Linked DNA regions of Homo sapiens: all the other regions are linked to region 2. Evidence: promoter capture Hi-C in human tissues and cell types (Jung and others, 2019). All regions are on one chromosome and are shown on one strand. The core of a region is centred on a gene start or on the middle of the fragment in contact, and the rest is flanking DNA. Distances in the headings are between cores, read along the strand shown.

The links. The method cuts DNA at HindIII sites, captures the fragments that hold promoters and counts their contacts. A contact is called where the count stands out against the background at its distance.
Region 1: a fragment that was not itself captured here is called in contact with the fragment with the promoter of MAPRE1 in region 2 in 1 of the 25 tissues and cell types used here (dorsolateral prefrontal cortex).
Region 3: the fragment with the promoter of KIF3B here is called in contact with the fragment with the promoter of MAPRE1 in region 2 in 1 of the 25 tissues and cell types used here (spleen).

The regions. Positions count from the first base shown.
Region 1 is chr20:33,375,400-33,379,149 of GRCh38, forward strand. The region is part of intron 8 of CDK5RAP1 (CDK5RAP1 mitochondrial tRNA methylthiotransferase); the gene reads right to left. Among named protein-coding and RNA genes, the nearest start is that of CDK5RAP1, 24 kb to the right of the region's middle. The HindIII fragment of the contact is 4,046 bases long and covers 1-3,597 here.
Region 2 is chr20:32,818,545-32,822,073 of GRCh38, forward strand. MAPRE1 (microtubule associated protein RP/EB family member 1) reads left to right here and starts at 1,410. Exons shown (of 7, transcript NM_012325.3): 1 at 1,410-1,484. RefSeq lists a silencer at 1,127-1,716 and enhancers at 1,789-2,458, 2,459-3,128. The HindIII fragment of the contact is 10,810 bases long and covers 1-3,529 here.
Region 3 is chr20:32,275,200-32,278,937 of GRCh38, forward strand. KIF3B (kinesin family member 3B) reads left to right here and starts at 2,452. Exons shown (of 9, transcript NM_004798.4): 1 at 2,452-2,566. LOC124904885 (a long non-coding RNA gene) reads right to left here and starts at 2,344. Exons shown (of 2, transcript XR_007067561.1): 1 at 2,105-2,344; 2 at 220-443. RefSeq lists enhancers at 2,208-2,257, 2,304-2,814 and silencers at 2,468-2,627, 2,648-2,827. The HindIII fragment of the contact is 2,728 bases long and covers 1,723-3,738 here.

The DNA.
Region 1 (3,750 bases), core at 325-2,824, 560 kb after region 2:
TCAAAAAAAAAAAAAAAAGAAAAAGAAAAGAAAAGAAAACATAAAGAGAACACATTCCAGTCTCTCTCCTCCATTGCAAGAAAGGCTCCTTTGCAGTGGTCAAAAAAATAAAGGATATGTAAAGAACTTTTACAACTCAATAAGAAGACAATCCAGAGGAAAAAAGATGAAAGTCGGGGCCAAAAGAAAGACTTTTCACTGAAACAAAAAACCTCCAAAAAAAGGTTTCAGATGTGGGCTACCTACTCCATGCCAGGCACTGTGCTAAGTACCTTTGACACAATATAGGCATACCTCAGAGATATCACAGGTTTGGTTCCAGATCACCACAATGAAGAGAATATTGCAATAAAGTGAGTGACACAAATTTTTTGGTTTCCCAGTGCAAATAAAAGTTATATTTACTCTATACTGCAGTCTATTAAGTGAAAGCAATGTACATACCTTAATTTCATTATATTTATATTTTTTAAATATATCGAGATAGGGTTTCACTCTATCACCCTCGCTAGAGTGCAATGAAACTGTAGCTCACCCCAACCTTGAACTGCTAGGCCAAGCGATCCTCCTGTTCCAGCGTCCCAAGTAACTACGACTACAGGCATGTGCCACCATGCCCAGCTAATTTTTTTATTTAAAAATTATAGGGCCGGGCACAGTGGCTCACGCCTGTAATCCCAGCACTTTAGGAGGCCAAGATGGGTGGATCATGAAGTCAAGAGTTCGAGACCAGCCTGGCCAACATCTCTACTAAGTCTCTGCTAAGAATACAAAAATTAGCCAGGCATGGTGGTGCATGCCTGTAGTCCCAGCTACTTGGGAGGCAAGGCAGGAGAACTGCTTGAACCTGGGAGGCAGAGGTTGCAGTGAGCTGAGATCGCACCACCGCACTCCAGCCTGGGTGACAGAGCAAGACTCAGTCTCGAAAAAAAATAAAAATAAAAATAAAAAATAAAAACTATAAAGTTGTTATGCTGCCTGGGCTGGTGTCCAACTTGTAGGCTCAAGTGATTCTCCTGCCTCAACCTCCCAAAGTGTTGGGATTACAGGGATGAGCCACCACTGAATATTTTAAGCTCACTGTTGAGACCTACTGCTTAGGAAAAAAGATTCCTTTCTAAATATGACTGCTCATTGACAACGCACCTGGTCATCCCAGAGCTCTGAAAGAGATGTACAAGGAGATTATTAGTGTCGTTTTTATGCCTGCTAACACAATATCCATTTTGCAGCCCATGGATCAAGGAGTAATTTCAACTTTCAAGCCCTATTATTTTAATTTTTAGTTTATATAAGATCAATTCTTATTATTTAAGAAATATATTTCATAAAGCTATAGCTGTCGTAGATAGTGACTTTTGTGATGGATCTGGGCAGAGTAAACTGAAAACATTCCGGAAAGAATTCATCATTCTAGATACCATTAAGAACATTAATGATTCATGGGAAGAGGTCGAAATGTCAACATTAATAGGAGTTTGGAAGATACTGATTTCAACATTCATGGATGATTTTGAGGGGCTCACGACTTCAGTGGAGGAAGTAACATCCTCTTTAGCATCATTCTTAAGGGCCCTAGGATTTTCAGAATGGCAAATCAACACTGGCTTCAACTTAAAGTCACCAGCTGCCTTGGCCCCTAACAAGAGAGTCTGGCTGGGCACAGTAGCTCCCGCCTGTGATCCCAGCACTTTGAGAGGCCTAGGTGGGAGAACTGCTTGAGGTCAGGTGTTCAAGACCAGCCTGGGCAATACGGCAAGACCCCACCTCTAATTTTTTTAAAAGGAAACAAGAGACAGAGTCAGCCTGTCCTTTGAAGCTTTGAAGAATGGCACTGATTTCTCTTCTCTAGCTATGAAAGTCCCAGATGACATCTTCTTCCAACAGAAGACTGTTCATTTACACTGCAAATCTGTTGTTTAGTAGAACCACCTTCAGCATTGATCTTAGCTAGATCTTCTGGATAACTTGCACAGCTTCTACATCAGCACTATGGCTTCCCCTTGCACTTTGATGTTAGAGAGATGGCTTCTTTCCTCAAACCTTGTAAGTCAACCTCTGCTAGCTTCAAACTTTTCTTCTTCAGCTTCCTCACCTCTCTTGGGCTTCAGAGAACTGAAGAGGGGCCTTGCTCTGGATTAGGCTTTGGCTTAAGGAAGTGCTGCGGCTTCTTTGATCTTCTCTCCAGATCACTAAAGCTTTCTCCATATCAGCAAAAAGGCTGGGTTTTGTTGTTAGTGGTTTTTTTGGGTTTTCTTGTTTTTCTTTTTGAGATGGAGTCTCACTCTATTGCCCAGGCTGGAATGCAGTGGCACAATCTCAGCTCACTGCAACCTCTGCCTCCCGGGTTCAAGCAATTCTCCTGCCTCAGCCTCCCAAGCAGCTAGGATTACAGGTCTGCACAACCAAACCCAGCTAATTTTTCTATTTTTAGTAGAGACAGAGTTTTGCCATGTTGGCCAGGCTGATCTAGAACTCCTGACCTCAGGTGATCCACCCACCTTGGCCTCCCAAAATGCTGGGATTAAAGGTGTGAGTCACTGCGCCCAGCCTGTGAGCCATCACACCCGGCCAAAGAGGTTGTGTTGTTTTCTTATCATTCATGTGTTCAGTGGAGTAGTACTTTTAATTTCCTTCATGAACTTTTCCTTTGCATTTACAACTTGGCTGGTTGACATAAGAGGCCTAGCTTTCAGCCTAGCTCGGCTTTCAACATGATTTCCTCAGTAAGCTTAAACATTTCTGGCTTTTGATTTCAAGTGAGAGCCCTGCGACCCTTCCCTTCACTTGAGCACTTTAGAGGCCATTGTAGGGTGATTAAATGGCCCAATTTCAATATTGTTGTGTCTCAGAGAATAGGGAGGCCTGAGGAAAGGGAGAGAGATGGGGGAATGGCCGTCTGTGGAACAGTCAGAACACACACATCATTTACCAATTTAGGTCACTTTCTTATGTGGGTGTGGCTCATGGTGTTCCGAAACAATTTTAAGAATAACATTAAATAGCACTGATCACAGATCACCATAACAGATGTAATAATAATGAAGTTTGAAATATTGTGAAAATTACCAAAATATGACACAGAGACATGAAGTAAGCACATGCTGTTGGAAAAATGGTGCTGACAGACTTATTCAGAGTTGCCACAAACCTTCCATTTGTTAAAAATAACTCCATAATATCTGCAGAGTGCAATAAAACAAGGTATGCCTTTGTATCTATTTCACAACAACCCAAAGCAGGAGGTAATTGTTAACCCCTTATTAACCCCATTTTACAGATAAAGATGAAAAGTTGAAAACATCACATGCTCGCTGGTAAAACAGTGGAAAAGCTGAGATTTGAACCCGGGTCTGAGGCGAAAGTCTGGGCTGTTTCCCAGAGCACCACATCACCTCCTTCCTGTCCACCCCACACCACCATTACCGCCCCACCACCATTATTACCACTCAGCTGCCCACTTTGTAACAAATCCTCTCTGTACAGCCCTCACGGTCCCGCAGGTGGTCTTAACCTCCCGCTGAATATCAGTCCTACCTCCACTCCCACCTTGGCAGACTTTTTTTTCGAGACAGGGTCTCGCTATCTCACCCAGGATGGAGTGCAGTGGTGCGATCTCGGCTCACTGCAGCCTCGACTTCCTGGGCTCATGTGATTCTCCCACCTCAGTCTCCCAAGTAGCTGGAACTACAGTCGTATGCCACCTCAGTCTCCCAAGTAGCCAGAACTACAGTCGTATCCCACCCCACC
Region 2 (3,529 bases), core at 160-2,659:
CAACCTCTGCCTCCCAGGTTCAAGTGATTCTCCTGCCTCAGCCTCCCAAGTAGCTGGGATTACAGGCGCCCACCACCATGCCCGGCTAAGTTTTGCATTTTTAGTAGAGATGGGGTTTCGCCATGTTGGACAGGCTGGTTTCCAACTCCTGACCTCAGGTAATTCATCCGCCTTGGCCTCCCAAAGTGTTGGGATTACAGGTGTGAGCCACCACGCCCAGCCCAGTTCCTCCTTCAGCCAAGGCTCTCTTGAGAATGTAAGGGCCAGGTGTGGTGGCTCACGCCTGTAATCCCAGCACTTTGGGAGGCCGATGCGGGTGGATCTCTCGAGCCCAGGAGACCAGCCCAGCCTGGGCAACATGGCAAGACCCCATCTCTTAAAAAAAAAAAAAAAAAAAAGAGGGAGTGGGCAAGAGAGAATGTATGTACAGCCATTGGGAAACAACCCGGAACAGGACTCAGGAGGTCCTTGCTCCTGTGGACTTTACAGGAGACAGACAGTAAAGGCACAAGATGCCTTCTTATGGTACTAAGAAGAAAATATGCCGCATGATATTGCAGATGGGGGGGCGGGGGCGTCACAGAACGTGACTTTTTTTTTTTTTTTTTGAGACAGAGTCTTGCTCTGTCGCCCAGACTGGAGTGCAGTGGTGCAGTCTCGCCTCACTGCCACCTCCGTCTCCTGGGTTCAAGTGATTCTCCTGCCTCAGCTTCCCAAGTAGCTGGAATTACAGGCGCCCACCACCACGCCAGGCTAATTTTTGTATTTTTAGTAGAGATGGGGTTTCACTATGTTGGCCAGGCTGGTCTCAAACTCCTGACCTCAGGTGATCCTCCCACCTGGGCCTCCCAAAGTGCTGGGATTAAAGGCGTGAGCCACTGCACCCGGCCCAGAAAGTTGACTTCTAAGCGTTTCCCCAAAGTGTCTATTAGGTATCTTTATGATTCAATAACCCATTCTTACAGAAATTAATTGTAAGCCTGGGAGCGGTGGCTCACGCCTGTTATCCCAGCGCTTTGGGAGGCTAAGGCGGGAGGATCGCTTGAGGCCAAGAGTTCGAGACCACCCTGGGCAACACAGCGAGACCTCCATACATCTCTAAGCAAAAAAAAAAAAAAATTCATTGTAAAAGCAATTTTCTTTTTGGTTACTGCCATAGGGATTTTGTAACTGAGTCACACCGGGCCGAGGCGGGACCTCATTGGCTGCGACCGACCACGTGCCGCAGTCGCCCCGGCGGTCGGGGCCCCGCCCCTCGGCTACCGTTCTGTGGATCAGGGGCCGAGCTCCGCCCCCGGCGCGCGGCTGAGACCCTCTCTATAAAAGGAGCCGGCGGAGGATGGCGAGCCTTTACGTCGGCGCGTAACGAGGGGGTGCGTGTGAGGTCATCGCGCGGGCGGGCGGGCGGGGTCTGGCGGTTTGAACGAGACGAAGACGGAACCGGAGCCGGTTGCGGGCAGTGGACGCGGTTCTGCCGAGAGCCGGTGAGCCGGCTAGCGGGCCCGGGGGGTGCGGCTGGGGGGGCGGCCGCGTGGGCCAAGGCCGGGCGTGCGCGGGCAGGCCCTACGGGCAGCGCCAGGGCCGTTCCACACGGCGGTGCTGTTCGAGCCGGGTGGGGGAAGGGCGGGGCCGTCACCCGGCGCGCGCGGGCTGGGCCTGGGGGCGCGCGCTGCGCTCTGCTCAGGGGGCGGGGTCTCGGGCCGGAAGTGGGCTGCTGCTACGCGGGGTGGGGGTTTCTGGGCCGCCGCTGAGGTGTGGTCCCTGCGCTGCAGCGACTGGAGGTCCCAGGGTGGTTGGGCCCTGGGAGGGTGTGGGCGAGGTGGGCCGTCCTGGGAGCTCTGGGGACGCACATTGTGGGAGGCCGTGTTGCCTGAGGGCCGAGAGATCGGGTGGTGGAGTCAGACCTGGGTTGGGTTCCGTGCGGTGTGACCTTGGACAGGTGCTTTAACCGCTGTGGATCTCAGCTTCCTCATCTGTAAAACGGGGACAGTAATACTACCCACATTAAACTCTTAGCGCGATGTATGGCAGAAAGTAAGCCAGCTCTTGGACTCCCTCCTTTCTTCAGTGTGTGTTTATTGAATGCCCACTAGGTGTTGGGCACCGTGCTAAACCCTGGCTGTTTTCCCGGGAACAAAGATTTGCTCTCCAGGAATCCACATTATGATGAGCAGGAGGACAGTATAACGGGATGGTATCAACAGTGCTAGTTCAGTCCCTACTTCACAGTTGCCCTCGGATGCTGCAGGGCAGAGCTTGACCTCTGCCCCATTTTGGGGATGAGGATCCTGGGGCCCATTGAGGGAGGTTATGCTAGGCCGGGCATCCGCTTCTCCGATGGCATGTCTCTAACAGTAGTAATGATAATAGCAGCTCTTTGTTAGTTGGGCACTTGTTTTGTGTCAAGCACTGTTAAGTGCTCCATGTGGCTTTGTGTCTTTTAATACTAACACTGTCTTTAAGAGAGATTCTCTTCTTCCTTTTTTTTTTTTTTTTGAGACAGAGTTTTATTCTGTTGCCCAGGCGTGCAGTGGCACCATCGCTCACTGCAACCTCCGCCTCCCGGGTTCAAGCGATTCTCGTGCCTCAGCCTCCCGAGTAGTCGGGATTACAGGCGCGCGCCACCAAGCCCGGCTAATTGTTGTATTTTTTAGTAGAGACGAGGTTTCGCCATGTTGGCCAGGCTGTTGTCGAACTCCTGACCTCAAGTGATCTGTCCGCCTCGGCCTCCAAAGTGTTGGGATTACAGGTGTGAGCCACCGCGCCTGGCAAGAGAGATTACTTTCATTTTACAAATAAGGGGTCTGAGACTCTGAGAGGCGGAGTGTCTTATGCAGCCCAGCAAGTGGCTGAACCCCCACCTGGGACTTCAGTGTCTAGGCTCTTAACCTCTTTATTACACTTTCTCCCTGAGGTCCAGAGCTACACATCCAGATGTGCCCTTTGTGGTGGTGCGTCAAAGTGCCTAGCACAGTTTTTGGCACAGAGGGAAGCTTAGGACGTGATGTGCCTTTTGCTTAAGTGTTTTCATGTAGATTTTTGTTTAATCCTTACCACCACTTTGTGCAGAGATACTGTTTTACCCATTTTACAGGATGAGCCATTTGTGATGCAGGAAGATTAAGTGACTTGCCCACGGTCACATAGGTCCTTTCTGGTGGCACCTCCTTCCCCCACTTTACATAGGGCTTATTGTGGTGCCTTGAAAGTAATAGAGTGCTTTAGAGCCAGCGTTGAATTTGTATAGGTTTGGGATCTTGCTAGGAGAGCTGCTGAAGGAAGAGAGATTCCTGGGTAGGTTTGAGGGAGCTTTTTCATGGTGGTGGTGGAAACCTGGATCAGGAAGCCTTGTAAGGGTGAGATTTGTGTGGTAGTCATGGGTCTTCCATGGCTGCCAATGATGGAATTGTGAAGGAAGGGTGAGCTGGAGCTCTGTTTTGATTGTCAGGAGGAGCCAATTAATTGATTGAGTCGGTGGATGTTCATTGTACATCCACAGGGTGCCTAATCCATGTATTTAGTGGCTGCA
Region 3 (3,738 bases), core at 1,202-3,701, 540 kb before region 2:
CCACCATGCCCAGCTAATGTTTTTTTTGTATTTTTAGTAGAGACAAGGTTTCAGCATGTTGGCCAGGCTGGTCTCAAACACTTGACCTCAGGTGATCTGCCTGCCTCGACCTCCCAAAGTGCTGGGATTACAGGCATAAGACATGGCGCCTGGCCTTCAGCCTAGATTTCTATACCCTGCTAAACTATTAATCAAGTGTGAAAACAGTATAAATGCATATTTAGACATACAAGGACTAAATATATTTGCTTCTTTGCAACCTTTCTCAGGAATCTACAGAAAGATGTGCTGCACAGAGATGACAGAGTAAATCCACAATCTAGAAGTTTGAGACACAAGGTCCAGGGCACAGGGAATCCCAACCAGGTGTAGGATATAGGAAAGTTCAGTATGACAGCTGTGCAGTAGGCCTGGAGAGCACTGGTCCAGATCAGAGCTGAAGCCTTCAGGAGAAAAAAACAAAAGAGAACTCATGAACTTTTTTTTTTTTTTTAAGTTGTTGTTGTTTTTGTGAGATGGAGTTTTGCTCTTGTCACCCAAGCTAGAGTGCAATAGGGTTATTTCGGGTCACTGCAACCTCCACCTCCTAGGTTCAAGCAATTCTCCTGCCTCAGCCTCCAAAGTAGTGGGGATTACAGGTGCCTGCCACCACTCCTGGCTGATTTTTGTATTTTTAGTAGAGACGTGGTTTCTCCATGTTGGCCAGGCTGGTCTTGAACTCCTGACCTCAGGGTGATCTGCCTGCCTCAGCCTCCCAAGGTGCTGGGATTATGGGCATGAGCCACCATGCCTAGCCGAATTGTTATGTTACACATCTGGAAAAATCACTGCTGATTATTTTGTCTAATTTATTAACCACATAGGAAAAAATTAACAATATCTGCAAAGAAAGCTAATGAAAGGGGGGAAAAAATGAGGCAATTATTAGCTTCAGGAAATACCAAAAGAGGCTGGGTGCAGTCTCTTTTGGTATTTCCTTTATTATTTTATTTAAAAATAAACTTCTTCACTGTAGAGAAAGTGTAAATCAAATTATGTGGGAGTTTTAATGGGCCAGGCCTGAGAATAGCACACATCACATTTAATTGGCCAGAACTTGGTCTGAACTGTAAGGAAGGCTGGGAAATACTGTCTAGTTGTGTGTCCAGGAGCAGGAAGAAATAACGTTTTTGAGAGGAAGTAGCAATATCTGCCACAACAGGCAAAAAGTAGTTGTAGGCAGATGAAGAAGACCATCTCAGGTATTCATTTATTCAAGGAGCAAAACATATTTGTTCAGCAACTACTATTGACTAAGCTTGGTTCCAGGCATGGTGGATACAAGAGTGAACAAATAAAAGACTGCTCTTATGCAGTTTCTATTTAGTGGGGAACAGCAGGTGTAAGTTCCATGGGGGTTGGAACCTGCCCTTCTAGGCCAGTGTGGTTGGAATAGAGTTTTAACGAATTTTGCAGGAAGTAATAAGGACTTCATATTTGATTCTAAGAGCAATGAGACTCCATTAAATCGAGTATTAATCAGAAAGTGGCATGATCTGTTTTATTTATTTATTTATTTATTTATTTATTTTAATCTTTATATCTGAGACGGAGTTTCGCTGTTGTCGCCCAGGCTGGAGTGCAGTGGTGCCATCTCTCTCACTGCAACCCCTGCCTCCCGGGTTCAAGCGATTCTCCTGCCTCAGCCTCCCGAGTAGCTGGGACTACAGGCATGCGCCACCACGCCCGGCTAATTTTTTGTATTTTTATTAGAGACGGGGTTTCGCCATGTTGGCCAAGCTGGTCTCGAACTCCTGACCTCAGGTGATTCACCTGCCTCAGCCTCCCAAAGTGCTGGGATTACAGCGGGAGCCACCGCACCTGGCCGCATGATCTGTTTTAAATAATTACTCTGGCCACCTTATGGAAAATGGATTGTTCGGACAGAGCTGGACAAAAGAATGGAAACAGACCAGATATTTCAGGCAGGCTAGAGATGAGCGTGGCCTGGCCTTGCCTGGGGCGGTTGTGACTGACTGGATTGGGTGAAGGACAGGAAAGCTACAACAAGGGTGCCTATAGGTGTTCGTATTGAGTCACTGGGGGCACCCTAAATGGGAGTTACCTCAGTAGCAGTTTGAGACACCAGTCAGATAATGGATGTGAAAGCTTTTAGAAAGGTTGAACGGCGGCTGAAATCGCGTGTGTTCCATTTACAGATGGGAAACTGAGGCACGAGATACCAGAGGATGGAGTCAGGCCACGTTGTGCGCCACTCTCCCCGCTTAGGTGGGTGAGGAGACCGAGGTGTGTTGGGCCCCCGCTAAACACCAGCACCGACCTGAGCCCCGCCCAGACCCCTCCAGCCGGCTTTCCCTGTCCTCTGCTCGTGTGCCAATAAAGTTATTGAAATTGACACCGGTTGCTAAGGAAGTGGGTCGCCGAGCCAGGTTGCTAAGGAAGTGAGCGGCCACTGTCTCTCCCCATCCGGGGCAGCGGGGAATGGCTGAGCCAGGGGTTCGCCGCCCCCGCCGCCGCCGCCGCCGCCGCCGCCGCCGCCGCCGCCCGCTTTCGGCTCGGGCCTCAGGTGAGTCGGAGGGGCCGGGCGCCCACCGAGCAGGGCTAATCCTGTGGCCGCCTGGGGTTTTCCCTGCGACCTGCGCCCGCGCCTCTGCCTGGCTTTGCTGTCCCGCGAGCCGGAGCATCCTCTGCCCTGCCTCCTAGGCATCCTTTGGTAGTCCGGACGGCCTTGCCCCTCCTTCCCCTGGCAGGGTCGCGGCCCGACCCCCAGACACGGCCACCTTGGGTCGCAGCCCACCTGGGGGCCCTGAGGCGGTGGTCAGGGCCCCAGTTTGGGAGGAGGGCGGGGAAGCGAGAGCCTGGGGTCCGAACCTCGGCGCTGTGCTGGGCTTGCTGTGTGACCTTGGGCAAGTCTTTTCACCTCCCTGGCCTTAGCTGACCTGTTTATTCAATGGGGTCCTAACATTGCTGCTCAGAGTGGTAAAGATAATGAGAAGTGTATGTGAAAGTGCCCTAAATGGGGAGAGGGAGAATTCTTAGGGCACCCTAGATGGGAGACCAAGAGGGCAGTTTGAAGTCTGAGCGAGTTAGAGACGTGGCATTTCCACTTAGTAACTGTGTGGCCCTGGGCAAGTTAATTTCTCTGAGTCTTCTTTTCCTTATCTGTGAAATGAGGTAATAGACTACTGTGGAAATCAGTGAGACTGGGTATGTCAAGTAGCTTGGCACATAGTAAGTGCTCAACCAGCTATTATGAGGCGTCCAGGGTAGGAGGGCAAGACTTCCAGGAGGAGATGACTTTGGGACAGGTAAGGTGTAGGTGTGTAGAGTGCCAGCTCATATGGGTAGTCCTACTGCAATGCCAACCCCCAACCCCGGTTTTACTTCTCCATTCTGCTCAGAGCAAGGGAGGTACTTCTACAAGTAGTCCTGGGAAACTCTTTGAGGTCAACCCCTTGTAGATAGCTGGGGTCATGGTCTCATTTTCTACCTGGGCTTCGTTGACCCTTCCAGAAGAAAAAAGGCATCTTTGTGTCCTTTGGGAAGTGCTTAAAGCAGTAATAACTATTTACAAGCATATGATTAAGAAGCACTTTACCAGGCATATTATTTCATTTAATCTTTATGTAGACTTTGCCAGGTGCCTGGTGATGTCATCCTCATTTTGCCGATGAGGAAACTGAGGTTCAGAAAAGTAAAGGGAAGGACCTGCTTAAGAATCCTTTTTTTTTTTTTTTT